Linked DNA regions of Homo sapiens: all the other regions are linked to region 1. The links are contacts of gene promoters, found by promoter capture Hi-C in blood cells and fetal thymus (Javierre and others, 2016). All regions are on one chromosome and are shown on one strand. Each heading gives the region's core, a stretch centred on a gene start or on the middle of the fragment in contact. The rest is flanking DNA. Distances are from core to core; before and after follow the strand shown. Region 1 holds the start of ANAPC10 (anaphase promoting complex subunit 10). Region 2 overlaps ZNF330 (zinc finger protein 330). Region 3 overlaps NR3C2 (nuclear receptor subfamily 3 group C member 2). Region 4 overlaps SCOC-AS1 (SCOC antisense RNA 1). Region 5 overlaps ELMOD2 (ELMO domain containing 2).

Evidence for each region. The method cuts DNA at HindIII sites, captures the fragments that hold promoters and counts their contacts. A CHiCAGO score of 5 or more calls a contact.
Region 2: a contact is called between a fragment that was not itself captured here and the fragment with the promoter of ANAPC10 in region 1, in 2 of 17 cell types (non-activated CD4 T cells and total CD4 T cells). The highest score is 5.8, in non-activated CD4 T cells.
Region 3: a fragment that was not itself captured here is called in contact with the fragment with the promoter of ANAPC10 in region 1 in 1 of 17 cell types (non-activated CD4 T cells); the score reaches 5.0 in non-activated CD4 T cells.
Region 4: a fragment that was not itself captured here is called in contact with the fragment with the promoter of ANAPC10 in region 1 in 1 of 17 cell types (total CD4 T cells); the score reaches 5.9 in total CD4 T cells.
Region 5: a contact is called between a fragment that was not itself captured here and the fragment with the promoter of ANAPC10 in region 1, in 2 of 17 cell types (total CD4 T cells and naive CD8 T cells). The highest score is 8.7, in total CD4 T cells.

What each region holds. Positions count from the first base shown.
Region 1 is chr4:145,096,743-145,099,576 of GRCh38, reverse strand. It overlaps ANAPC10 (anaphase promoting complex subunit 10), which reads left to right and starts at 1,381. Exons shown (of 5, transcript NM_001256706.2): 1 at 1,381-1,457. It overlaps ABCE1 (ATP binding cassette subfamily E member 1), which reads right to left and starts at 1,266. Exons shown (of 18, transcript NM_002940.3): 1 at 1,158-1,266. RefSeq lists enhancers at 955-1,034, 383-1,254, 1,285-1,544, 1,625-1,674, 808-2,007 and 1 more. The HindIII fragment of the contact is 4,584 bases long and covers 330-2,834 here.
Region 2 is chr4:141,226,731-141,229,617 of GRCh38, reverse strand. It overlaps ZNF330 (zinc finger protein 330), which reads right to left. Exons shown (of 10, transcript NM_014487.6): 5 at 2,772-2,851; 6 at 1-47. Among named protein-coding and RNA genes, the nearest start is that of ZNF330, 7.3 kb to the right of the region's middle. The HindIII fragment of the contact is 2,365 bases long and covers 404-2,768 here.
Region 3 is chr4:148,438,148-148,440,847 of GRCh38, reverse strand. The region is part of intron 1 of NR3C2 (nuclear receptor subfamily 3 group C member 2); the gene reads left to right. Among named protein-coding and RNA genes, the nearest start is that of NR3C2, 2.9 kb to the left of the region's middle. The HindIII fragment of the contact is 2,969 bases long and covers 1-2,700 here.
Region 4 is chr4:140,369,687-140,372,508 of GRCh38, reverse strand. The region is part of intron 1 of SCOC-AS1 (SCOC antisense RNA 1); the gene reads left to right. It also overlaps a transcript of SCOC not described here. Among named protein-coding and RNA genes, the nearest start is that of SCOC-AS1, 2.3 kb to the left of the region's middle. The HindIII fragment of the contact is 4,110 bases long and covers 1-2,822 here.
Region 5 is chr4:140,526,112-140,528,811 of GRCh38, reverse strand. It overlaps ELMOD2 (ELMO domain containing 2), which reads right to left. Exons shown (of 9, transcript NM_153702.4): 3 at 1,318-1,346. Among named protein-coding and RNA genes, the nearest start is that of ELMOD2, 3.3 kb to the right of the region's middle. The HindIII fragment of the contact is 4,334 bases long and covers 1-2,700 here.

The DNA.
Region 1 (2,834 bases), core at 132-2,631:
TAGATGCTCTTCCAACAAACAAACAAACAAAAAAACTCCCTTTTTTAAAATAGGGGAGAACTAAGTTCTCAAAAAGCTCACAAACCCCAAACAGCTTTTGGTTCAAATACAGGTTCTGAGCCTTTGGTTACACTAACAAAGTATTAGTGTCAGGTGGCTGGTATACAATGAATATTCTCAGAATATGGGACAAACTACTGCAACATAAATGCCACTATCATAAATGACTAGTTAGCAGTCCTGTTGGGAAAGAGTAAAAAAATAAAACATGTTATTTGGACAGTTCTTCCTCTTATAGATTTTTACCATCAAAAAAGAGAAAATAAGCTTATGTAGTTAATGGGAGGTGGGAATTCGGCTTTGGCTGTCATTCATTCACAATACGTATTAAATGCCTACAATGTACGAAGCCCTGAAGAGATAATAAAGGTATTCTGAGTAAAGACATCAACCTTGATCTCAATGAGTATTAGATACAATAAAAGGAAAAACGGGTAAGGGGAGAAAGTGCCTAGTGCTACAAAAGCGTACCAAAAAAACTATAGGATTTCTACTGGGAAACTACTTGGGACAACCCCAGTCATAGCTGCGTACACGCTGTTCTGAGAAAAGCAGAGTGACATGTGGGCATCATTTCTATAAAGCCTGGGAGTGGACAGCGAGTATTCGACTTCATGGCGGCAAGATGCCATGACTCATTCCACTCAACAAAACGTGGAAGCCACGACTTCCCACAACCAAATATGCACATGTGACAATATATCCATTTTGGGTGCTGGAGGAGTGTGGGGGTACTAGAGAGTGCTGTAAGTTCTAAAGGTGCCTTCCTCTCCAGCAGGTTTAGCTTCAGGGCGGGAGTGGGGTAAAGGGGGAGTGGAGACTACGGCATCTAGGTCCATTCTCGAAGTCCCTCGCGGGTGTGGCAGGCAACAGCGGCGACAGCCGGGTCGGCTGGAGGGGAAGACCGAGGCGCCCCCAAGCTCTCGGCGTCGCCCGCGCTCCATCAGTTCCAGCTGTCCCGCAGGAACCGCTGCCACGCGCTGCTGCTGTCTCCGCCACCTAAGGCCTAACCAAAGGCTCTCGGAGAACGTCCCTACATTCTTTCCAACCTGGCAGATGGCAGCTAACGGCCAAACCTCTCCGGGCTATTCACGTACCTGGAGAAAACGATCCCCTTGCGGAGGGGAGCACAGAGGCCAAATCAGCTCTTGCCTTCACTTTTCAGCCACACAGCGTGTTCTCACGGCCACCGGCCAAAATGGCGGTGCCCAGCCGCCGCACGCGCAAGCCATAGGACGTAGTGCGCGCGCGCGACATAGAGCGTGAGGCGGAACCCTGGAGGTAGGTAGGGAGATATGACGTCATTGAGCTGCGACCCTTGTTCAACGCCGTTGGCGAAGCCAGCTGCTGGAGGTGCCGAGAATCTGAGTTTCGGCAAGCAGCCAGGTCTGGAAACTGTGAGTGTGTGGGCTTTTCTCCGACGTCGAGCGTGGTCCTAGCGTAAACAGATGCATTCGCCTCTCCGGTTTCAATCTTTTTTTACGTTTGCGCTTTCCTCAAGGCCGGTGGGTCAGGAGTGGAGCCTTAGTCATTCTAACGCTGGAGGTGTCAGTAGGACCAACAGAGTCTGGTGCCGACACGGCTTACTGTTGCGCGCTCTTCTAGGCCTCAACTTCCTCTCAACTGTGTGGTCAGTTCAGGGCCGGGAATCCAATCTTTTCCGAGCTCCATATTTTATCCACTTGGTGGCGTCCAGTCCCAAGTCCGGCAGTTGAATTCTGCCCTAAAGATGGGCTTTATTTCTATCTTTTTTTAGGTAACAGGACATTCAGTTAGTAATGATGGTTGCAGGTTGAATAGTCTCGCCCTAGATCTCACCTAACTTGCAGGCAAGTGACAACTAGTTCATAACTGAACCTATTCATCTGTTTATTCATTCAGTAAATTACTTATTGAGCGTTTAAGCCTCAGGCCTTGCCAAAGTTTACAGTCCGTTGTGTCTGCCGTTATTTAGTAAGTATCAAGTGCTTGTGTGCCGATTAAAGAACAACTTCGGATACAATGGGAGGTGTCAAGGAAACGGTATGCAGAACTATTGCACCTATTTTGAATAGCATATATAACAATGTTCAGTAGCAGTAACTGCGCTACCAAAGCAGTTTTACATATTGTTCACGATCCAGTATTGAAGTGTTTTTTCACATATGAATAGACTTAGTAAAATTAACAAAAGATGTGAAAGATGAGGTCAACCTTTTTAGAATGGGCCAGTTATTCACTTCAAAATCTTGAAGCCATTTTCCTGACCTTATCTTCTATGGTAAGAGCATATGTAAGTGAACTTTTAACATTTTTTTCTTATTTTTGTGCTTTTTGGGACAGTGTCTTGCTCTGTTACGCAGGCTGGAGTGCAGTAGCACGATCTCGGCTCACTGCAACCTCCGCCTCCCAGTTCAGGTGATCCTCCTGTCTCAGCCCCCCTGGGACTACAGGTGTGTGCCGCCACACCAGGCTGATTTTTTGGAATTTTTTTAGAGACAGGGTTTCACCATATTCCAGGCTGGTCTCGAACTCCTGGGCTCAAGCAATCCACCTGCCTTGGCCTCCCAAACTGCTGGGATTACAGGTGTGAGCCACCGGGCTGGGTCTTAAATAAAACTTTTGACAGCTAGAGGGCAGGTATGACTGTTCTCTGCATCACTCAATGAATATTTAAAATGAGGATCTTAGTGGGGTGATGGGATCACACCTGTAATCCCAGCTACTTGGGAGGCTGAGGTGGGAGGATCGCTTGAAGCAAGGTGTTCAAGACCAGCCTGGGTAACATAGCTAGA
Region 2 (2,887 bases), core at 337-2,836, 3.9 Mb after region 1:
TTCCTACCATGGCAAACCCAAGCTTCACAGAAGTCACATATTGCACCCTGTAACCAAGGAACAAGAATACATAATCATTATCACCTGACCACCTGCAACCATTCTTTAACCACGGCAACCATCAAAACTGTATACATTTAGCAATTTATCAACCCTCAATGATAGTAGGCCGCTTCATTTAAACATTTTACTACTCACTCTAAGCCAAAAATAAAAAGGGTTCTCTGAAAAACAACTTCTTAACAGCTATCCACAATATACAAAACTCAGTTACATATCAAAAGAAAAAAAGGTAAACTGTACACTTATCCTAATATTATTTAATTAAGCCAAAGAGATGGAAGTATTTTCCTCAAAATGAATTTAATTCAAATAAAGTTTGAAGGAACCAACAGCTTAAGCTTTCTTGTCTATAATAATTCCTGTAACTACACTGAATTTTTAAATACTACCATTTCTGATTTTTAAAATACCTTCTTATCTATATATTTGCATAGCTTTTCTAGAATTACTGAGAAATACGAAACTTCTGCCAGCTTCTTTTTTTCTCTTATGACAACTTATGTTTTAATAATAATTACATTTCTTTGTGGAAAAAATTTGAAGTAAAATATATGGAACTAAAATACAGGGTAAGATTCTCCAATTCTATATCAAGAAAAGACAATAACAATATGTTTCAATAAAACATTGACACCTACCAAATATTAAAAGCTAGAAAGAATCTTAAGAGAGTAGGATCAGACAATCTTTCCTTTATAAAGGAAAAGCATGGGGCCCAAGACTAAATCCAAGTCCCGAGTTGGATTACAGGTGAGGTGAGATTTAAAGCCAGGATTTCAGAATCTCAATTCAGTATTCTATTATTCAAGGCTCTGAAACAAATGTAGTAAACAACAAATAGGAAGAATGTTTTTTGACTTGCAAAAATGGGTTATCAGTATAGCTAGCAAATCATCAACTATATCTCTTGGATCAGCCAGGGTTCTTGCAAAAAAGAGATGGTACTCTCAAACTAGGTAATCTAGAAGAGTTTTAAAGAGATAATTTGCAGAGGACAGGGAAGTTCTTAGGACAAACAGGAGAGGACTACCTGGCCATATAGGGAGAACTGTGGTCCTTAGAGAAAGGATAAAACCAAACCAGGATAACCTGGTACGGAGTGAGATGAAGGAATAAACACCCAGATCTTATTCTCCTGCTATTCTCAGGGGGAATCTGGGGAGGCAAATAGAAGATATCCAGAAAATCACTTTTCTAGAATTTACAACTAAAGATATATGACTCTACTTAAATGTTTTCTTTATGTAAGAAGAAATTATTCACATTCAAAAAACAGTGATTTTAAAAAATGAATTTGGCTGAACTTAAGCTACCAAGGAAGACTGAAAGTGTTTTTGAATAAAGATAACTTGACAATCCTATACTTAAAATAAAGAGCAATTCACAAGATGATAATTCTCGCTCCTTGCTTCTATAATATATGCACATATGAAATATATCATAGGTCTCCCTCATAATAGAAGTTTACATGTTCTTGGAAATTTACCATAAATAAAATATTCCATTTGACATAAATATAGTATCATTTTCCTCATAGATTAAAATTTGAACAAAATTTTATTTGAACATAAAATCATACTGCAATACAGTAAAACTGGTTAACTCATATTTAGAAGGAAAACATGTTTCAGGAAAAAGAGCAAAATACATCACATAATCCAGTTGGTTTTATTATTCAAAAAGCTGAATTTACTTTAAAAAATCCTATATGTAATGAAGAGGTATGTTAAATATATACACTTTTTTGAAATGTAAAGTTTTAAAGAACACTATTATCCTAGGTTCGTTTGGAACTAAGTTGCTTATTTAACCAAAGGCTTAAACGTTGGTTAAGCAGGGCTTTCGGTACACTAAATACTGTTTTGTGAAGTCTGGTTAAGAGATATTAGAAAGGTACCACTGAGTATATACCCAAAGGATTATAAATCATGCTGCTATAAAGACAAATGCACACGTATGTTTATTGTGGCACTATTCACAATAGCAAAGACTTGGAACCAACCCAAATGTCCAACAATGATAGACTGGATTAAGAAAATGTGGCACATATACACCATGGAATACTATACAGCCATAAAAAATGATGAGTTCATGTCCTTTGTAGAGACACGGATGAAGCTGGAATCCATCATTCTTAGCAAACTATCGCAAGGACAAAAAACCAAACACCGCATGTTCTCACTCATAGGTGGGAACTGAACAATGAGAACACATGGACACAGGAAGGGGAACATCACACACCACAAACCGGGGACTGTTGTGGGGTGGGGGGATGGGGGAGGGATAGCATTAGGAGATATACCTAATGCTAAATGACGAGTTAATGGGTGCACCACACCAACATGGCACATGTATACATATGTAACAAACCTGCATGTTGTGCACATGTACCCTAAAACTTAAAGTATAATAATAATAATAAAATTTAAAAAAAAAAAGGTACCACTGAGAAATGAAATTCTGTTTAGATCAGCATGAAAAGTTTCCATGCCTTGTATGTTCCCTAATAAGAAAGAAAGAAGCAGCTAGAAACAAGTGGGTACTAAGGGAAAATCATACAAAAAGCATGCCACTCATAATCCAGATAACTACAGATTGATTGAAACAAGGGACAAAGCAATGATATTTAGAAAAAAATAACCACTGATCAGAATGACATTTTCTTATCCTTGAAAACGTACTAGTCTAAGAGATAATAAGAAGCTTACCACCATTGCAAGGCCAGTACTGTATACACCAGCATGCTTTATGACACAGTCTGAAGACTTCATCATGCACTTTGTTTTCCCTAATGAAGAAAAACATTTGCACTGTTAGTCTTGCA
Region 3 (2,700 bases), core at 132-2,631, 3.3 Mb before region 1:
AAGTGTTTCCAGATAAAATACAAATTCGCAAGGATCTTTGTTAATATTCCCGAAAAAAGTACTTCTTTATGGAAAAGGGCAATTTAACACAGACTGTAAAACGTAAAACTTTAAGGTTTTCCTTTGTGAAAACAGCATTTCTTTTGTGTTTGAGAGCATATGTATGGCTTAAAGTAGCACCTCCACCAGTGCTTTTCCTTTAGTGAATTTTTTTTTGTGTTTTGGGGCGAGGCCCATTTGCATGAAAATTAAAAGTTCATAATGTTTTTTGCATTTGTCCTAAGAGAATCTTTGGTATGGTTTCCATTGTGAGGCAGGCAAGCCTGATTTTTGTTAGTTAGATTTGTATACCTCTATCTGCTTCATTTTATACTTTAGTAACATAAACTTTTTCTTTATCCTCTAGATATTAAGTTCTATGAGGATCATATTCATCGACTAGTATTTTCAGTATTCACTAGTTAGTACAGGTTGACTGAAATTCTGCTCAAGCCATGGTCATTGTGCCAGTTGCAAAAAGATAACCTCTGCTTCCTGGATGACATAGTAAATAAATTCCTAACTGGACCCATTTGTTTACAGAAAAGACTAATTAAAATACTAGGGAGACTCAAAATATTTCAATAATGCTATTTGAAAAATATCTGATCTTAAAAAAATGTTTGTGTAGAAGCCGTGCAGATGCTAGATGTCTTGTATTCTTTTGTGTTTGACTATTGCCAATCTGTATTGTTTCCTTTGTTGAGAGGTGCATTAGGTTGGTAGATGAGAATACCTTAAACAAAGTAATTTAGATTTCAGCAAAGCCTTTTGCAAATTCCTTAATGAGACTCCTGTCAATAATGTGGTGAAACACAGCCTATTTTATGTTATTAAGGGAGTTCAAGGTTAGCCAAACAGGACTTGGAAAGTTGTGATCAGCTGTATGATGTTAGCTGGTAAGGTGCTACCTTGTCCAGGGCTTTAAGACTGTCTTTGGTACCCATCATCTCCAGTATAGATTCTCTTCAGGTCTTCCGTAGCCTCACAAATGTGGGATATGGTTCTTGCTTTAGGGCAGAGTGCCGAAAAGTGCAGAATCTTAGTAGATGTTCTTTGAGAAAAAGGTGGAGTGGTCAAATTATTTGAGGAATGCTGGATTAAAAAGTAAACAGAATCTCCCAGAGGTTTTGATATGCAAATTTATATAGGGAAATTTCAAAAAAGCCAAGAGTGGACCGCCCTTCCCAAAAGACAATTTGGAGAATGGGTTTTGGAGAGGGGTCTGGGTGGGGGTCCCCTTCAGACACGGGACAGAGAGCCCTCTTGACTATGACCAGGAAGAGAATGAGGCTATGTGAGTGACGCAGAGTGTGCCAGTGAAGGCCTTCAGGTAAAGCTGTTGAGACAAGAGTAACTTCCAGGCATCTGGTTAGATGGTGGTGCAGTTTGCCAAGAGAGCGAATGTGAATTTGGGGGTGTGTGGGGGGAGAGATGTGCAGAAAGTGTTCAGTTTTGAATACAAATAGACATATTTATTGTGTTGTTTAATGGATTTGGATCTGAACCATTTATACCTTAGCTATATAGTAATTTATCTTTAGTATGGGGAAGACAAAATATTCTTAGGTAGAAATAGAAGCAGCATATAATATTTACTGCTATTTTTCAATACATAGCTATGACTAAATGGTTTTTTAGTAAAGCATAAAAGGCCAGTCTTAGCTATTTGGATCCCAATTCACTGTTTTTTAGTTTAGTTTTCTATCAGCTTTTACTTGGCTTTCATCCACACCAAACATTTTGGCTGGAATTACTATTAATAGATAACTACCTCAACCTTTGTAATTTTATTTATTTTCTACTGTTTTGTGATTGATTTTTGATTAGGAATTCATAGGATGTTCTTTAAGTGAAAACATACTACATAATTGGTAGATTTTAATGTTTGGAAATTGAGCATTGATATTATAATAGTTGAAAATTTTTTCAATGTATCCACTTGGGATACTGTAGTGAAATTGATCATTTCTGCCCTTTGAGAAGGTAAACTCTAGTGTAAAAACACAGAAAAGTAAGAGGTAATTATAATACTTGGACAATTTGGACATTAAATTTCTTCATAGGGCTTTGTGCTATCTAATGCAAATTTATTTATGAGTCCAGCTAAGATTTATCTAATGCAAATTTATTTAGTAGCATTATTTTTCAATGTTAATACATATTCTGTAACAAAAGGACTTCGTGTTTTTTGTTTTTTTTTAAATGAAGGGAAGGTAGGCAGGGTGGAGATAGTGACAAAGAGGGGAAAGGATGAGAGGCCAAAAATAAAACTTGTGTATAGAATGGCAGAAACAGCATCTTTTAGATCAGGACTTTTTTTGGGCCATAGATTGTTTACAGACTTTGAAATGTTTGAAAAATGCATAATACAGATTTTAGGAGTTTTAAAATACTAAAATGTAAAAATAAAATTTTACTGTGAGTGAGTTAATTTCCTTTAAGATATGTTTCTTTACAGTGGTGGTTGTCAGCCAAGGGTGATTTTGCCCCCCATGGGCATTTGGTAATGTCTGGAGACATTTTCAGTTGTCACAACTGGGGAGGTGGAATGCTACTGGCATCTAGTGGGTAGGGGTTAGGGATACTGCTAAACGCCTTAGCAATGCATTATTGACCTCCACAACTAAGAATTATCAGGCCCAAAATGTCAATGTGCCA
Region 4 (2,822 bases), core at 196-2,695, 4.7 Mb after region 1:
AGAGAGACTAGAGAGAATGGATGCAGGCAGTATTCAAAGAGTAATAACTAAGAATTTTCCAAGATTGTGGAATATTTGAATTTTCAGATTCAAGAAGTACTTATTCTTGAGCAGGATTAATATAAGAATTCTATGCAACGGTGAAATTGCAGGACACCAAAGATCAAGAGAAACTATTAAAAGCAACCTTTTGTTTTTGCTAGAACAGTATTTTTAAATATTTTTAATTGTAGTGAAATATACATAGAATAAAATTTACCATCTTAACCATTTTTAACTTCAGTAGTATAAGATACATTCCACATTGTTCTCCAACCAATCTCCAGAACCAATCTCTCTTTTCATCTTGCCAAACTAAAACTGTATACCTATTAAAGAGCAACTCTCCATTTCCTATTCCCCTCATCCTCTGGCAGTAATCATCTTACTTTGTGTTTATCAGTTTGACTACTCTAGGTACCTCACCTAAGTGGAATAATACAGAATTTGCCCTTTTATGACTGGCTTATTTCATTTAGCATAATGCCTCAGAGTTCATCCATGTTATAGCATATTGCAGAACTTCCTTTTTAAGGCTGAATAGTTCTATATATCATTTATTATGTGTATTATGCCACATTTTGTTTATTCATCTATCAGTGGACGCTTAGGTTGCTTCCTCCTTTTGGCTATTGTGAATAATACTGCTATGGACATGGGTGTGCAAATGTCTCTTTGAGACCCTCTTTTCAGTTCTTTTGGATATACACCCAGAAGTGTGTGTTAATTTGTGCTGAATCATATGGTAATTCTATTTTAAAGCAACTTTTAAAAAAGTGGTATTGACACAAGAATAGACAAAAAGAAAATTAGGAAAAAAAGGGTACCTGGAAGTTGGTATACAATAAAGATGTCTGGTGAGGAATAACTGTTTCTAAGGTTGTGGGGAAAAAACTATTATTCATTACTGTTGGGAGTGTAAATTAGTATAGTAACTGTTCGTGGGATATAGAAAACACAAGTTATGGTGGTTCTAGTTAAATTGGCTATTTATATAAAAATAAGAAATTCAATCCTGATACCACGACAGAAATAAAACTAAATTCCAAATGAAATAATGATCCAAAATGTGACAAACAAAACTCTAAACTTTTAGAAGAAAAGCGTATGTCTGTATATCGCCGTAGGGAAGAAACAGCACGATTCATTAAGGAAAGATGTAAAATATTGATTATTTTAAAATTTGGAAGTTTTACAAACAGAAGAGAAGCCATCTCTAATCAAGTTAAAAAACAAGCCACAGGTTGGCAGAATATAGTAAAACTCTCAAAATATAAAGAATTCAGGCCAGGCGCGGTGGCTCACGGCTGTAATCCCAGCACTTTGGGAGGTCGAGGCGGGTGGATCACGAGGTCAGGAGATTGAGACCATCCTGGCTAACACGGTGAAACCCCGTCTCTACTAAAAATACAAAAAATTAGCTGGGCGTGGTGGCGGGCGCCTGTAGTCCCAGCTACTCGGGAGGCTGAGGCAGGAGAGTGGCATGAACCCAGGAGGCAGAGCTTGCAGTGACATGGTGCCACTGCACTCCAGCCTGGGCGACAGGGTGAGACTCCGTCTCAAAAAAAAAAAAAAGAATTCAGACAAATCAGTAAGAAAAAGACAACTCAAGATAAATATATGCAAATAACGTAAGTAGGCCACTTACAGAAGAGGAAAACTGAACGGCCAGAAAGGTTTTTAAAAAATGTTTACCTTCACTAATAATTAGGTAAAATAACATTAAAACAATTAGATAAAGGGGCATATTCATCAAGAAGACACAAAATCCTAACCACAGTGCTACAAAATAGAAATGAATCAAAAATTAATTGAATTCAAACAGTTCATTACTCCCTGCTCTGCAATTTGTAAAACAACTATACAGATAATTTAAGTATACAGAACTCAGGTCCCAAACTTTTCAGTATATTAGAATCACCTGGGAATCTTTTAATTATTCTAGTGAACAGACCACACCTCAGAATAAATTACAGTCTTAAGGAGTGAGATACAGGCATTAGTATTTTTGAAAGTTACGAAGGTGATTTTGAAAAAAGGCTGGCAAATTTCTGAACTATTGATATAGAAGACCTGAACAATCCTATCAGCCAACTTGACCTAATGGACATTTGTAGAACATTGCACCCAATAACTGAAGAACATGCTTTCTTTTCCAATGCACTTGGAAAATTCATCAAAATAGACTCCACTGTGTATCATCAAACAAATCTCAGCAAATTTAAAATAATTGAAACAGTAAAAATTATTGTCTCTACCCACAAATTAAACTAGAAATCAGTAACAGAAAGATATTTGTAAATCTCCAAATAGTTGGAAATCAAACTATGTACTTCTAAACAAACCATGGGTCACAGGGGAAGTCACACACAAAAAAATTAGAAAGTAATTTTAAACTAAAATGTAAACATAAAAAGGCAGCTCTTGCATGACTCAGCTTTCAGCTTATTTTCAGCTTTCAGACTTGGGAGGCTGAAGCAGGAGAACTGCTTGAACCCAGGAGGTGGAGGTTGTAGTGAGCTGAGATGGCGCCATTGCACTCCAACCTGGACAACAAGAGCGAAACTCCATCTAAAAAAAAAAAAAAAAAAAAAAAAAAAAAAAAAAAAAAATCCCCCTTCTGAATAAGGAAAGGCTATAAGTACAAATAGAAACCACTGAGATTGCATAGAAATATTTGATTATAAGGTGAACATTCATGCGACCTGGACTATGTGAATATTGATAATATAGTTCATCTAAATAAAGGCACAAAATTACATTTTTTTTCCTAGAGAATGGGG
Region 5 (2,700 bases), core at 5-2,504, 4.6 Mb after region 1:
CTCTTCCCCCAAATATTCACTTATATATATGAGTTATTCTTAAATAGACCATTCTTAAAGAGTACAACTAAATCATTAAAGTACCTATTTTAAAGGTTACTCTTCAGAACATAACAGATATGCTTGCAACTCTCAAGAAGGTCTATTTTATTTCTGGCACGATTCATAATACTAGACAGTAGCAAATCAACATTTTTGACCTTGAGCCACATTTTACATCATGATCAATAACAAACATTCATGTGGATGTCCAAAATACACACAGATGTACACAGAAATATTTAAAATAATTATAATAGTATAAAAAATTCCTAAAATATATTTAACCATATTATGACCAATGGTTTCTAAATATTTTCTGTTCTATTCCTATTATTGTTTAATACTGGTTGTGTTCTATTATGGGATTTCAAACAATGGTCTAGATGACCCGTATTCTATCCTTGCCACACCAAATAATCTACATGTAGACAAAATTGTGAACTACAATAGGGAAGTAACAGCATGTGGTAGACTGAATTATTGGTCCCAATTCTTCATTACCTTGTAATTGAATTATACAACCTACTCCCTACCATAGCCTTACGGTGGGCATATCATATTTCTCCACCCCTTGACTTGGGCTTGGCCATGTAACTTGTTTTAACTAACAGGTTGCTAACAGACATGACACAAAGAGACTTAAAATATATTTGTGTAGTTGGGCCTTTAGTTATCCATGGTGAAAACATTCACCAGATACCTGTTAACCCCCTACCTGAGTCCCAGATGAGACAAATGGAATAGACAGGAACTTGGCCCCAGCTTGAAGTAAGGCTTCTCCAGCTGACCCATAGACATATGAGCAAGAAACAACGTATCGTTTTATGCCCCTGAGATTTTATTATAGTTTGTTACACAGCAAAAGCTGACTAATACATAGCATGAATTATGACTTATTTTAGCTCAAAAGGTACACAACCCAGGGTTTTCTCTATCCTAAGTTGCTTTTCTCTCATATAATCTATCCTGAGGACACAGTCTAAAAGACGACTTTCCTCCTAAGGCCCTGCTTTCCTAAAAGCTATCAACTCTTAAAGCAAAATAAACAAATAAAACCTCAGGACAGGACAAATTATTCAAGTATTTTCTTTGAAATACACACGAAAAACACATATATAGAGAAATGTTTGAAAACAGAATATTACCTCTAAACGGGGAAAATTTCACTCAATGCTCACTATAGAAAACACTCTTCTAGCAGGGCACTTTTTTTTTTTTAAGAAAAAATATGTCCACGTTAAGTTTTCTAGAGTTACCACCTTTATGTTATCCTACCTTATTCTTGGAGTATGTCAAGGAATTTTCTGAAATGACAAAAAAAAAAAAAAGATGTTATCACTTAAATGCTGTTTGTCAATTACCCTATAATAAACAACTAGTAAAAATATCAAACCAGTAACAAACTAATAGTTCCAGGAGATATAATTTCTATATAACAGGAAGCATTTTAAAATTTAATCTTACAGTATAAACATATGATTTCAAAAAACTCAACCAAACACAAAATACCTATTCAAAGAGGTGACACCAACCTCATTACCTGGGGTCATATGTTTCTGTTTAGACCCCAAAGTGTCTACTAACCACTGCAAATTCACCCATAATTGTGTCACAGTAGCTCAGGTCCCAGAAACTCATCTTAAGACTACAATGAGAGTGCTCTCTACTGCATTTTCATTTGTTAGCCTGAGCCTTTAGATTTGAGGTGATAGCAACCAAATCGTACAACAAATAGGCAAGGACTTCAGATTATCTGGTCAACCCTTCTGTCACCAGACAAATAGCTTCTCCATTCCTGGTTTCTATATCAAGAATCACAGGAACATTTTTATTGGTCTATTTAAAAAATTTTCTGGCACATTTACGAATAATCTTTTCTCAGCAATTTGAAAAATTTAGGAAAAATGCTTTTGCCACAAACAAATGCCTTTATATATATTCTTCCCCCACACTATAAAACACCAACCCATACTGCCTGAAGAGATTTCTTATCAAGAGGTACTTTGTTCTTTTGAGTAGTCAAAAGGGCAAATTAAAAGAGCAGCAATAATTTAAGTCAACCATGAAGTTGTAAGAAAACTAGGAAAGTAATTAAACTTAATCAACCAGCTGCTATGAGGCAGCGTCTGTCTGTCATTCTTCCGATGTTGTCTTGGATACAGGTTCCATTTGCCAATACTCCACTCTCTTAACCTGACAGGGGTTGATTTCTCAGTCGAAGCACACTTGATCAACACAAAAAAAAAATCTGGCTAATTCACAATTTTCCGTTTAACACAGAGAGCATGAGCTAGAGCACTTCTCTGCTCTTCCTTACCCTGGCTGAAAAGAAGCGACTTCAAAACACAGTTCTTACTCATCTGTGTTCAAATTTTAGAGTAAAATTTTCAATGAAGCACTGAAAACTGATGTATTTTAGAAGGTAACAGAGCAACACTGTTCAACAGAAATATAACACAAGCCAAAATGTGACCCATTTGTGTACTTTAAAATTCTGTATAGCCACATTAAAGTAAAAAGAAACAGATAACATTTTAATATATTTTTAACCCAACATATCCAAAATATTACCATTTCAACATACAAAGAATATAAACAATTACTGGGACTTTTTACATTTTCTTATAAGTCTTTGAAATACAGTTTATATTTTACACT